Linked DNA regions of Homo sapiens: all the other regions are linked to region 1. The links are contacts of gene promoters, found by promoter capture Hi-C in blood cells and fetal thymus (Javierre and others, 2016). All regions are on one chromosome and are shown on one strand. Each heading gives the region's core, a stretch centred on a gene start or on the middle of the fragment in contact. The rest is flanking DNA. Distances are from core to core; before and after follow the strand shown. Region 1 holds the start of STRBP (spermatid perinuclear RNA binding protein). Region 2 overlaps STRBP (spermatid perinuclear RNA binding protein). Region 3 overlaps STRBP (spermatid perinuclear RNA binding protein).

Region 1 (4,296 bases), core at 672-3,171:
TACGGTTGCAATGAATCCTTCTAACAACCCTACAATATGCAATACTATTAGTCTCACTTGGCAGATGAGTAAACTTAGACTAGAGAGATTGATTTTCCAAGATCACACAGCTAGTGTGCAGTGAATCTGGATCTTTACAGTGTGGCGCCTCTTCTCCCTCTGATACTTATGGGCATCCTACAAAACCCAGCTTTAATGATCTCATGTCATGTGCACGTGTAGTCTTCCCTAACACACTTAGGCAGGAAGATGACCCTGTCCTCAAGGGACTGAGAGACCAGGGAGGAGACAGACAGCTAAACAATTACAATCTAGTGCCATGAGAATACATATAGCTTAACAGGACTATGTTCAAGCCGAGGGAGCTTAGACCATGTGTCTGAGGCAGCCAAGGATCTCCAGAGAATATACTCTGAGCTGATTGATAAGGATACCCAGGATTTTTTTCAGGAGGGTCAAGGAAGGTGTGAGTGGTCAGAGGTGGGGAGAGGGTTTAGAAAGGGATTTGCGGCCTGGCATCTGTCTCAGGAGACTCAGGCTCCTACACACCTGGGCATACTCTGGAAACAACAGTACTGTAGTTCTGTGTGGCTGGAGGGTCACATTGGCCTGAAGGAGGGGCAAAGGGAAGGGCGTGCACCTTGAAGCTTAAGGCCAGATCACCAAGGCCTTTTCAGTTGAAATTGGGTTTTTTACACTTTATTCTGTGAATGAAACAGAGCTGTTAAAATATTTGAGCCTGGTGTGTTAGAAAGATGAAAAGGGGCCCCAAGGGGGCTGTTGTGGGGAGTCCCTCCTCAACCCCTGGGCTGTTCAAGGTCCTCTGTCTTGGCACTGAGTGGTCAGGTCGTTTCTGCTCCAGGCTGGGAATTGTCTTAGGGCAAAGACATTGTCTCATTTGCCAGTGCATCCCTGCAGCCTGCAAACCCCCCGGTATACAGCAGGGACTGTATACTGGCAAGCAGAATGCTGGGCACCAAGAACTTGAGGCCAGGGACTGTAGAATAGAAAGCGAACCTTTAATTCTTCCCCAGCGCCGCCCCTGGCACAGAGCTGGTAGGTGTTCAGCCAAAGTCTGACCCAACCATAAGGAGGTCAGAGAGGTCCTGGGCCCAAACTCAATCCCAGCGAGGTTCATTATAGGCAGGTGAAGGAGAGGTGATTGTAGCAGCTTCTGTTCAGCGACTGCTGTGTGCCAGGATTCACACCTATTGTCTTATGCCATCTCCCCAACAGCTCCTAAATTGGAATTATTGTCCCAGTTTTCCTGATGAGGAAACTGAGGCTCAGAACGGTTCTTGGTAACTTGGCCAAGGTCACACAGCCAGCAAGTAGGTGGGCGGTGGCACAAGTCAAAGCCTACTGGCCTGCCCCTCTACCTCGGGAGGCAGTGCGACGCCTACTCCATTTGTGTGGCTGCTGGGGTTGGGGGGCATCCCGCACTGGGGTGCGGGGCCCGGGGAAGGCGGCTAGCCGCCGCGGCTCGGCGCAGCTCCCAGGTTCGGAAGTTACGAAGTTTCCGTGCATTTCGCTAGCCTCCCAGCGCAGCTCGTCTCCGCTCCGCCGCAGTTACGCCGCTAGCGCAGCGGGGCTCAGGTGCTGCAGCGAGCGGGGGCCTGGGGCCGGGAGGAAGGCGGGGACGCAGTTTACGTAAGCGTCCGCTGGCAGGTGCATAAGGCCGCCGGCGGCGAGTGCTCCCTGCGCGCTCCCAGGTGCGCACTTGGCGCAGGCGGCGGCACAGCAAGGCGGCGGCGGGCGCTGGCCGGCGCTCTCAGGTGCGGCAGGACGCGCGTGGAGGGGGCGCGCGGCGAACGAGGGGGCGGGCTTTCCGTTCCCCAGCAGCCGCGGGGCCCGCCCCCTGGCCTGGCCAATGGGCGCGCTCGACGGTGTCACGTGCTCGCTGCCGCCGCTGCCGCCGCCGAAGCGGAGACCGGAGCCGCGAGCGCCACCAGGGCAGCAGCCGCCGCAGCCGCCGCCGCTGGGCAGAGGAGCCGGAGACGCGAGCGGGCGAGGTGGCGGCGGCGGCGGAGCGGGAGCGGGTACCGGGCGCGGGCAGAGCGCGGCGGCGCGGGTAGGCTCCGGCGGCGGGGCGGGCGCCTGCGCGGCGGGCCGTCCCGGGCGGGCGGCGGTTAAGGCGGCGGTTGAGGCGGTTGGCGGAGCCGGCCCGGGCCCCGCATTGTTTGTTGTGCGTCCTTAGCAGCGGCGGCGGCGGTGGCGGCCGAGGCGGAGAGCAGGGAGCAATCCCGGCCCCGCGGCTCCGGCATTGTGGCCGCCGCCGCCGCCGCTGCGGTGCCCCGGCCGCTTCGGGCAAGGGCAGCGGGCAGCCTTCCTCACCTTCGCGGGGACGGGGTCCCGGCCGATCAGGGGAGGGCGTGGGCAGGGTTGGGGGACGCGGTGCCGGGAGGTCTTCCGGGACGGAGGGCTCGGGGCTCGGGGCAGGTGTTGGAGGACATTGGGGGCAGGAGCTGGGGAGAGGCTTCGGGGGGCAGGCGGAAGGTGTGGGCAGATTTGGGGGTAAATAGGGGTGCAGAGGGATCCGGCCCAATGGAGGAGGAGAGCCTTCAGGCAGGTTTGGGGGGCCCCCTGGGCCAGGCGAGTGCGAGATGGAGGACATTCCGTCCGGTGGGGGGGGGCACTATATTGTGGGGTTCAAGAGGGAATGAGGGGGCTTTTGGGGAGGGCAGGGACGAGTGGGGTGGGAATGGAGGGAGAAGACTGGGGACTCGAGCAGGACTGGAAGGAGCGCTGCGTGCCAGGGGCAGGGAGTGGGGCGGGTATTAGGAAGGCCACCGGGACGCCCGTGAAGGGGAACGATGGAGGAGGGGGTCGGGGCAGGGGGAAGTGAGGGCAGGCAGGGAGCGCCTGAAAGGGAGGGAGGGGAGCAGGGTGCCTAGGCTTCTGGGGTGATAGGGAAATGAAGGGTAGGCCCAGGGGCTCCAGGAGACCTGCGAGGGGTGTGAGGGAGTGTGTGGCCAGGTGTATAGGGGAGCCTGCAGGGAGGCGGGAGGGGGTTGACATGTAAGGATAAAAAGGCAGGTATCTGGTGCTCAGGGAAGAGGAGTATGGGGTGGAAGGGGGAAGTTCATTGGGGCAGAGACTTAGTTTGAGGGCTTGCAGAGAGAGGTGGGGACAGTAGGAGAAGGGTGATGGGGATGGAGAGCAGGAGGTGTGTGGGGCATTTAAAGGATAGCGGGAGAAGTGCGTGAAATGGAGGGTGTTTATGCAGGAAGTATGGAAGAAGGTGGGATCAGCAAGAGAGGGAATTTTGAGGTAGGACGGAGGGTGAGGGGTTCTTGGCAAGTGTTGGAGGACGTTAGGGGCAGGAGCTGGGGGAGAGGGACAGGTGTGGGGTGGCGTGGAGTGTGTGAGGTGGAGGGCAAAAGGGGGTGGGGAAAGGGAAGTGTTCTTGGAGTGGCAGGTAAAGTGTGGGGACAAATGGAAGGAAAGATTTCTGAGGCGGGAAGTGTGGAGCGGTTGGGGAGGAGGAAGGTGGAGGGGAGGGTGAGAACGAAATCAGTAGAGGGGGACAACGGGATAGACTGGAGGGGAAGGTGGACAGGTCTGGAGTACAGTAGGTGGAGGGAGGGAAGCACAGGTTTGGGGCACTGAATTTTGTGCTGTAGGGAGAAGGGAGGTAGGGAGAAAGAAGGAAGGTAGACAGGCTATTTTGGGGTAGAGGATGTAGAAGAATGCTTAATACCTATAGTGGAGTAAGGGAAGGGCAAGGCAGAGGTGTATGTGGACATGTCTGTAACTAGAAAGGCATAGGTGATGGATTGGAGTGGTGGTGGTGGTGGTGGGGGAAATAGGATGCCCAGGTTTAGGGCAGGAAATGACTGCTTAAGTTGGAGAGAGCTAGGAACACAGGTTGCTTAAGAGAGTATGGAAGATCCAAGGAGTGGAAGTATGGGGAGAGATTGGAACACTTTGAGTTTGAGAGATGAAAGGGGCCAAGATTTTTAGGTCACTGAGAGTCTAAGGAAGATCAGGCAGAGTGCAGAAGTTGGAAAAATAACTAAATGGAGAGGATTAAATTCCATACTGAGAGAAACTGGAGATTGAGGGGTGGGGGGACCTGGATCCTGGAATGATGTTAATGGAAAGTGGAGGACATTAAACTCAGTGTCATATCTGAAAGTTCATACTCCTAGGGTCAGAGAGATCGTTGAGCCTGCTTTTAATTCCAGAACCCAGTAAATGAGGAAGGGGGAAGGGGTAAGGGAGAGCTGAGTGCACATCCCCAAATTTGGGAGAGGTGTGTAGTGGGTATCATCCTAGCATATTGGTTTGACGAGT
Region 2 (4,296 bases), core at 1,271-3,770, 85 kb after region 1:
TGCAAGCTCTGCCTCCCGGGTTCACGCCATTCTCCTGCCTCAGCCTCCCGAGTAGCTGGGACTACAGGCACCCGCCACCATGCCCGGCTAATTTTTTTGCATTTTTAGTTTTTGTATTGTTAATTTGTATTGTTAGTTTCACCATGTTAGCCAGGATGGTCTAGAACTGGCTTCACTAATATAAAGAAAGCTTGTGTACTTTGTTTCACTTGTTGACTGAACACATAGCAATCGTTTTTGGCTGCTGGATTCACAGCTAAATAGTGACTAGCCGAATCCCTTAGAATGGAGTAGGGTTGGGAATGGGAGATGCTGAAGACTTTGGTTATATAGTAAGGTATTTATAGGAAAGGTAAAATTTTAGTATTGTATTTAGTATTATGTTACTTAGATGGAGCATTTTTGAGATATCTCTTACTGTGGGATCATATTTTGATCCCTGTTTTTTGGTTGTCCAAAAGGATCCCATGAATTGCAGCACTTATGCATTCCTTCCTTAATGCGATATGAGTAATAATAAAGTAAGTCCCATTTATTAGAATCTCTTCTGTTAAATAGTATCATTTTTTTAAAGAGATAGGGTATCGCTCTGTTGCCCAGTCTGGTCTCGAACTTCTGGCTTCAAGCAATCCTCCCGTCTTGGCCTCCCAAAGCATTGGGATTACAGGCATGAGTCACCTCACTTGGCCTAACTGCTAATATTAAGAAACTGTTACTGACAATAGGGTGTTTCCTTATTAAAGGAAAGATATTTAAATGAAGAGAAAGTTATTTTCTTTGTGAGTTTATACGATATATGGTATGTAAATTATGTCCTCTTATAGCCACATAGTTAAAGCATGTGCTGTATTTTGATGTTCTGGTTTTTTTTTTTAATTTTTTTCTCCTTTTCTTGTAGCTAGGTTTATAATATAAGTGTTTCATCAGTGCTCAGAAAAGTTTACTTTTACTATGTCTGGAATAAAATCTCATAAAGGTGGAACAAAATAAGTAACAATGATTAGGACTCTGGATAGAAATAATACTGTGGAAATCTGGTGAGGGACATCCAGGGGTAATGAAGTCAGGATCTAGTGAATATTCAGGAGTCTGGCATAGCAGTGCATACAGGCCCAGGGACAAATAGGGCCTTTTGGGAGTTAGGAAGTAGAGCCAAAAAAGCATTCTGAATTTTAGGCTGAAAAAAATTAAAGAACAAACATTGTGCCAACATGTACTCTTTAATGGCAGTATCCAATGTAAAAGCATCATGGAATAATCATTGGTATTGTTGTATTTTCAGGTGTCTTTACTGAATTTTCAGATGGGTCTGAGTAATGCCAATTTCTGATTGAAAATCTAATGGTTAACTGCAACTTGTTGCCATCAGTGGTAGTATTACTCTTTCAGGTGGTGCTTCTTGACTGAATCTCTTTGCAAATGTATTTATCTCATTGAGTGCTAGTCAGCCAGCTGCCACATTGTAGCTACAGGAGGCTTACTTTTCTGGCCATATCACCTAGGCTCCTGGGCCCAGGCCTTCAAAAGATGTGTTAGCTTTTTGTTTGAACTGAGGGAATTTTCCTCTATTGAGTTTATTTCTTTTTAATCAGGAACATGTTTATGGGTTGCACACTCATATTGGAAGCTAATAGTAAATAAGCATTTTTGAAGTTGTTTTCCTCTTCTCTTGCAGGTGTGTTCCAGAGAACAAGCCTTCAGACATTTGCTATATTGACGCTGAGCTGTCAGGGGACTCAGGCTTATGAGGAGGTATTGTTACACAAAACAGTGTCTAGTGAAGACGACAAGAAAGAGGGGAAAGGATCGGAAAAAGAAGCTAAAATACTATAGAAAACCATGGTAGGTTATTGTGGATATTTTCATAATTTAGTTACAAAAGACTCCAGTAATTTAAAATTAGAAATGTTAACAGTGAGGGCAAATGAAAAACAGTGGTGTTAATTTTTGGCTTTAGTGTGTCATATAAAGATGGCACTCTACTATTCAAAGCGAATGAATTCAGATTTACTACAAGCTATGTAAACCACAAGGTAGGGCCTCATGAGCCTGTAGGCCATGAATTATTAAAACAAAGGAGGAAATGCTCATAAATAATATTTTCTAATAAAACTGGCATTAGCAAACTGATACAAATAGCTAGGTTTTTAACTTTAAGTTCAGTTTTTTTTCTTGTGGAAATTAAAAATTCTGAACCAGTCCTTTAATTAGTGATATGAATGATGTAGAAGTTTATAATATGTGTGAATGTTTAACTGAAAAAGCCACCTCTTTTTCATACTTTTAAAATAATAGGGTCAAGTGCTGAGTATAGTAGGGGCACTGAATTGAGAATCAAAGAAACCTTGCTTTTTGGGAAGAGTTCAGACTTAAATTGAATTTGTGATGTTAGATGAGCTCATAGTCTCTGGTGCCTAGGCTTTTAATTGGTAAAATGTGCTGATTTTTTTTCCCTTAGTATTATGAGTTCTGGAGGGTGTTATATGAATTTTTTTTCTCCTAAGTATAAGCGAGAAAAGGTTTCTTTTTTTTTTTTAAAGACGGAGTCTCACCCTGTTGCCCGGGCTGGAATGCAATGGCGCAATCTCGGCTCACTGCAACCTCCGTCTCCCAGGTTCAAGCAATTCTCCCTGCCTTAGCCTCCCGAGTAGCTGGGATTATAGGTGCCCGCCACCATACCCAGCTAATTTTTTTTATTTTTAGTAGAGACGGGGTTTCGCCATGTTGGCCAGGTTGGTCTCAAACTGACCTCAGGTGATCCACCCACCTCAGCCTCCCAAAGTGCTGGGATTACAAGCATCAGCCACCGTGCCTGGCCAAGATTTTAAAAACACATTACCAGTGAGAGAAAAAGCAGAAAATATTAATCACCAGTATGATTATTTGGAATATGTTGTTTAGCCGGTCTGTTGGTGGTGATTTTTTTGATTTTTTGTTTTTTTTTTTTTTTTTTTTTTTTGAGACAGGATCTTGCTCTGTCCTCCAGGCTGGAGTGCAGTGACATGATCATAGCTCACTGCAAACTCCAACTCCTTGGGCTCAAAGGATCTTCCTGCCTCAAGCCTCCCAAGTAGCTTGGCCTTATAGGCGCATGCCACCACATCTGGCAAATTTTTAAATTTTTTGTAGAGACAGGGTTTTGCTTTGTTGCCCAGGCTGGTCTGGAACGCCTTGGCTCAAGGAACCCTGCTGCTGCCTTAGCCTTCCAAAGTGCTGGGATTATAGGCGTGAGGCACCGTGCCCAGCCTGGTGATGTTTCTTTAAATGTTACTTGCTTTTAAAAATATTTGTGCCAAGGATTATAACTTAATCAGCTGACTCCTTAGAGAAGAAATTCTGATATTTTAGATCTAGATTGTGGGAACAAATGTTAACTTGGGATTTTCCCTGTCATTTTAGTTATGTGGTGAAATGTGAAAAAACCACACTGATTCTTTTATATCTTACCATGTGAATTATTTACCTCTCATTCCGCTCATTTCTTATAGTCTTGATATTCTTACAACTAAAAGAAATGCTTTATTATTTTTCAGAGTGGATGAAGATGTCTTCCTTAGTTTATTCTTTTTAAATTCAGCTTAGATTTTCTGGTGTATAAATTTTGTGTTTTTATATAATTTAATTGATGAGTATTTTCTGGTTTCTCTTATTACTTGCTTTTTAGATCTCAGATTGCAATGAGAATTTTCTCTTTCTGCATGGTTCTTCTGATTTAATTTTTTGTCTTTTTTTTTTTTTTTTTTTTTTTTTTTTTTTAAAGAAACGGAGTCTCACTCTGTTGCCCAGGCTGGAGTGCAATGGCACGATCTCAGCTCACTGCAACCTCTGTGTCCCGGGTTCAAGTAATTCTTCTGCCTCAGCCTCCTGAGTAGCTGGGACTGTAGGGGTGTACCACCATACCTGGCTAATTTTTGTATTTTTAGTAGAGATAGGGTTTCACCATGTTGGCCAGGCTGGTCTTGAACTCCTGACCTCTGATGATCCACCCTCCTCGTGAGCCAAAGTGTTGGGATTACAGGCGTGAGCCACTGTGCCCAGTCTGATTTATTTTTTCAATACTTAAAGAAAATCTGTTTAGAGCTTATTTGAGTAAATAAGATTTCTCTGCATTTCTTCAATTTTTCCTGTTACTGTTTCTTTTTTTTTTTTTTTTTTTTTTTTTTTTTTTTTTTTGAGACGAAGTTTTGCTCTTGTTGCTGAGGCTGGAGTGCAATTGTGTGATCTCAGCTCACTGCAACCTCCGCCTCCTGGGTTCAAGCAATTCTCCTGCCTCAGCCTCCCAAGTAGCTGGGATTA
Region 3 (4,296 bases), core at 457-2,956, 68 kb after region 1:
ATTGAATGTCAGTGGCCTAAACTAGCTCCACCTAACATACAGAATGGCAGAATGGATACAGAATCCAAATATCTGCTGTCTTCAAGAAACTCACCTAACAGAGAAGGAGTCCTGTAAACTCAGAAAAGTGGAAAAAGGTATTCTACATAAATGGAAACCAAAAGCAAACAGGAGTAGCTATTCTTAGACAAAACAAACTTCAACAACAGTAAAGGCAAATATAGTCACTATATAATAATAAAACAATCAATTCAACAAGATATTACAATTCTAAAGTTATACGCACCTAACACTGGAACTCCCAGATTTGTAAAACGATTACTGCTAGACCTAAGAAATGAGATAGACAGCAAAACAATAGCAGTGGTAGATTTCAGTACACCACTGACAGCACTAGACAGATCTTTGAGACTAAAAGTCAACTGAGAAACAGTGGACTTAAACGAAATGCTAGAACAAATGGACTGATATTTAGAGAACATTCTACCTAAGATCTGCAGAATATACATTTTTATCAGCACATGGAACATTGTCCAAGATAGATTATATGATAGGCCACAAAGCAAGTCTCAATAAATTTTAAAAAATCGAAATTATATCCAGTATCCCTGCAGACCACAGCGGCATAAAACTAGAAATCAACTCTAGTTTGTACTAGTCAAAGAAGTACTGTTCTGGAAGTACTAGTCAAAAAGGAACTCTCAAAACTGTACAAATACATGGAAATTAAATATTCTGCTCCTGAATGATATCTGGGTTAACAATGAAACCAAGATGGAAATTTTAAAATTCTTTGAAATGAATGATAATAATGAGACAAGTTATCAAAACCTTTGGGATACAGCAAAAGCAGTGCTGAGGGAAAGCTTATAGCACTAAATGCCTACATCAGAATTTCAGAGCACAAATTGACAACCTAATGTCACACCTCAAGGAACTGGAGAAACAGGAACAAAAAGCTAGAAGAAGAAGTAACAAAGATCAGAGCAGAACTAAATGAAATTCAAACACACACAAAAAAATACAAAAGATCAGTGAAATATGCTGTCGCTTCGAAAAAATAAAATTGATAGACCATGAGCTAGATTAATCAAGAAGAGAGAAGGCCCAAATAAGCTCAATTAGAAATGAAACTGGTGACATTGCACTTGACACCACAGAAATACAAAAGATCATTCCAGACTACTATTAACACCTTTATGTGCACAAACTAGAAAAGCCAGAGGAAATGGTCAAATTCCTGGAAACGTACAACCTTCCTAGATTAAATCAGGAAGAAATAAAACCTTGAACAGACCAATAACAAGCAGTGAGATTAAATCAGTAATTAAAAAATTGCCAGCCAGGCATGGTGGCTCATGCCTGTAATCCCAGCATGTTGGGAGGCCGAGGCGGGCGGCTCATGAGGTCAGGACATCGAGACCATCCTGGCTAACATGGTGAAACCTGGTCTCTACTAAAAAAAAAAAAAAAAAAAAAAAAAAAATTAGCGGGGTGTGTGGCGGGGCGCCTGTAGTCCCAGCTACTCGGGAGGCTGAGACAGGAGAATAGGGTGAACCCAGGAGGCGGAGCTTGCAGTGAGCCGAGTTCGCGCCACTGCACTCTAGCCTGGGTGACAGAGTGAGATTCCGTCTCAAAAAAAAAAAAAAAGACAAAAAAATTGCCAACAGAAAAAGCCCAGGATCAGATGAATTCACAGCTGAATTCTACCAGACATTCAGAGACTTGGTACCAATCCTACTGAAACTATTCCAAAAGATTGAGAGAAGGAATCCTCCCTAGATCATTCTGTGAAACCAGTATCACCCTAATTAGAAAACTAGGAAAGGACACAACAAAAGAAGAAAACTGCAGAGCAATTTTTGTGATGAACATAGATGCAAAAATCCTCAACAAAATATTAGCTAACTGAATTCAACAACACATCAAAAAGATAATTGATCATGATCAAGTGGGTTTCATGGCAGAATGGGTACAGAATCGAAGTATCTGCTGTTTTCAAGAAACTTGTCTAGTAGGAGTAGTTTAAAATATGCAAGTCAGTAAATGTGATACAGCACATAAACAATTAAAAACAAAAGCCATATGATCATCTCAATAGATGCAGAAAAAGCATTTGACAAAATCCAGCACACTTTATGATAAAAACTGTCAACAAACTGTTGAGAGTAGGCATGGAAGGGACCTACCTTAAAATAATAAAAGCCGTCTATGACTAACGCACAGCCAACATCATACGGAATGGGGAAAAGTTGAAAGCATTTCCCCGAGAGCAGGAACAAGACAAGGATGCCCACTTTCACCACTCCTATTAAACATAGTTCTGGAAGTACTAGCCAGATCAGTTAGGCAAGAGAAAGAAATAAAGGGTATCCAAATTGGAAAGGAGAGAGTCAAATTATTGCTGTTTGCAGATGATATGATTGTATGGCTAGAAAGTCATAAAGACTCTTAGATTTGATAAACAAATTCAGTAAACTCTCAGTTTGTAATATCAGTGTACACAAATCGATAGCACTGCTATACACCAGCAATGATCAAGCTTAGAATCAAATCAAGAACTCAGTCCCTTTTATAACATCTGCAAATAAAATAAAATAACTAGGAATATACCTAACCAAGGAGGTGAAAGATCTCTACAAGGAGAACTACAAAGCACTGCTGAAAGAAACTGTAGATGATACAAACAAATGGAAACACATCCTATGCCCATGGATTGGAAGAATCAATATTGTGAAAATGACTATACTGCCCAAAGCAATCTACAGATTCAATGCACTTCCCATCAAAATACCAACATCATTTTTCACAGAATTAGAAAAAACAATCCTAAAATTCGTGTGGAACCAAAAAAGAGCCTGCGTAGTCAAAGCCATTCTAAGCAAAAATAACAAATCTGGAGGCATCACATTACTGGACTTCAAACTGTACTACGAGGATACAGTTACCAAAACAGTATATGGTGCTGGTATAAAAGTAGGCACATAGGCTGGGTGCGGTGGCTCACGCCCGTAATCCCAGCACTTTGGGAGGCTGAGGCGGGCAGATCACAGGTCAAAAGATCGAGACCATCCTGGCCAAAATGATGAAACCCCATCTCTACTAAAAATTAGCCGGATGTGGTGGCACGTGCCTGTAGTCCCAGCTACTCGGGAGGCTGAGGCAAGAGAATCGCTTGAACCCAGGAGGCAGAGGCTGCAGTGAGCCCAGATTGTGCCACTGCACTCCAGCCTGGCGACAGAGTCAGACTCCATCTCAAAAAAAGAAGTAGGGACATAGACAAATGAAACAGAATAGAGAGCCCAGAAATAAGCCAAATATGTACAGCCAACTGATCTTTGATGAAGCATACATAAACATAAATTGGGGAATGGACACTATTTAATAAATGGTCCTGGGAAAATTGGCAAGCTACATGTAGTAGATGAATGAAACTGTCTATCTCTCACTATATACAAAAATCAAGATGGAACAAGGACTTAAATGTAAGACCTGAGACAATAAAAATTCTAGAAGGTAATGTTGGAAAAATTCTTCTAGACATTGGCCTAGGCAAAGAATTTATGGCTAAGACCCCGAAAGCACATGCAACAAAAACAAAAATAAATAAATGGGACCTAATTAAACTAAAAAGCTTCTGCAAAAGAAATAATAGAGTAAACAGGCAACCCACACAATAGGTGAAAGTATTTTCAAACTACGCGTCCAACCAAGGACTAGTATCCAGAATCTATAAGGAACTCAAATCAAGAAAAAAAAAATCCCATTAAAAAGCAGGCAAAAGGCCGGGCGCCGTGGCTCACACCTGTAATCCCAGAACTTTGGAAGGCTGAGGTGGGTGGATCACCTGATGTCAGGAGTTAAAGACCAGCCTGGCCAATATAGTGAAAATGTGTCTCTACAAAAATACAAAAAAAATTAGCCTGGCATGATGGCGGGTGCCAGTTAGCTACTTGGGAGGCTGAGGTGGGAGATTTGCTTGAACCCAGGAGGTGGAGATTGCGGTGAGCTGAGATCGTGCCATTGCACTTCAGCCTGGGTGATGGAGTGAGACTCTGTCTCAAAAAAATAAAAAATAAAAAGTAGGCAAAAGACATGAATAGACATTTCTGAAAAGAAAATATATAAATGGCCAGGATACATATGAAAAAAATGCTCAACATCACTAATCACCAGGGAAATGCAGATTAAAACCACAGTGAGATACCACCCTACTCCTGAAAGAATGGTCATTATTAAAAAGACAGAGCCAGGCTCCGTGGCTCACGCCTGTAATCCCAGCACTTTGAGAGGTCT

The links. Contacts are between HindIII fragments. The CHiCAGO score rates a contact against its expected background, and 5 or more counts as called.
Region 2: a contact is called between a fragment that was not itself captured here and the fragment with the promoter of STRBP in region 1, in 1 of 17 cell types (naive B cells). The highest score is 6.9, in naive B cells.
Region 3: a fragment that was not itself captured here is called in contact with the fragment with the promoter of STRBP in region 1 in 1 of 17 cell types (total B cells); the score reaches 5.5 in total B cells.

What each region holds. Positions count from the first base shown.
Region 1 is chr9:123,266,211-123,270,506 of GRCh38, reverse strand. It overlaps STRBP (spermatid perinuclear RNA binding protein), which reads left to right and starts at 1,921. Exons shown (of 19, transcript NM_018387.5): 1 at 1,921-2,071. RefSeq lists silencers at 1,496-1,975, 2,146-2,195 and an enhancer at 1,595-2,095. The HindIII fragment of the contact is 5,570 bases long and covers 650-4,296 here.
Region 2 is chr9:123,181,678-123,185,973 of GRCh38, reverse strand. STRBP (spermatid perinuclear RNA binding protein) reads left to right here. Exons shown (of 19, transcript NM_018387.5): 3 at 1,676-1,842. The coding sequence starts at 1,840. Among named protein-coding and RNA genes, the nearest start is that of MIR600HG, 68 kb to the right of the region's middle. The HindIII fragment of the contact is 4,656 bases long and covers 193-4,296 here.
Region 3 is chr9:123,197,925-123,202,220 of GRCh38, reverse strand. The region is part of intron 2 of STRBP (spermatid perinuclear RNA binding protein); the gene reads left to right. Among named protein-coding and RNA genes, the nearest start is that of STRBP, 69 kb to the left of the region's middle. The HindIII fragment of the contact is 1,676 bases long and covers 869-2,544 here.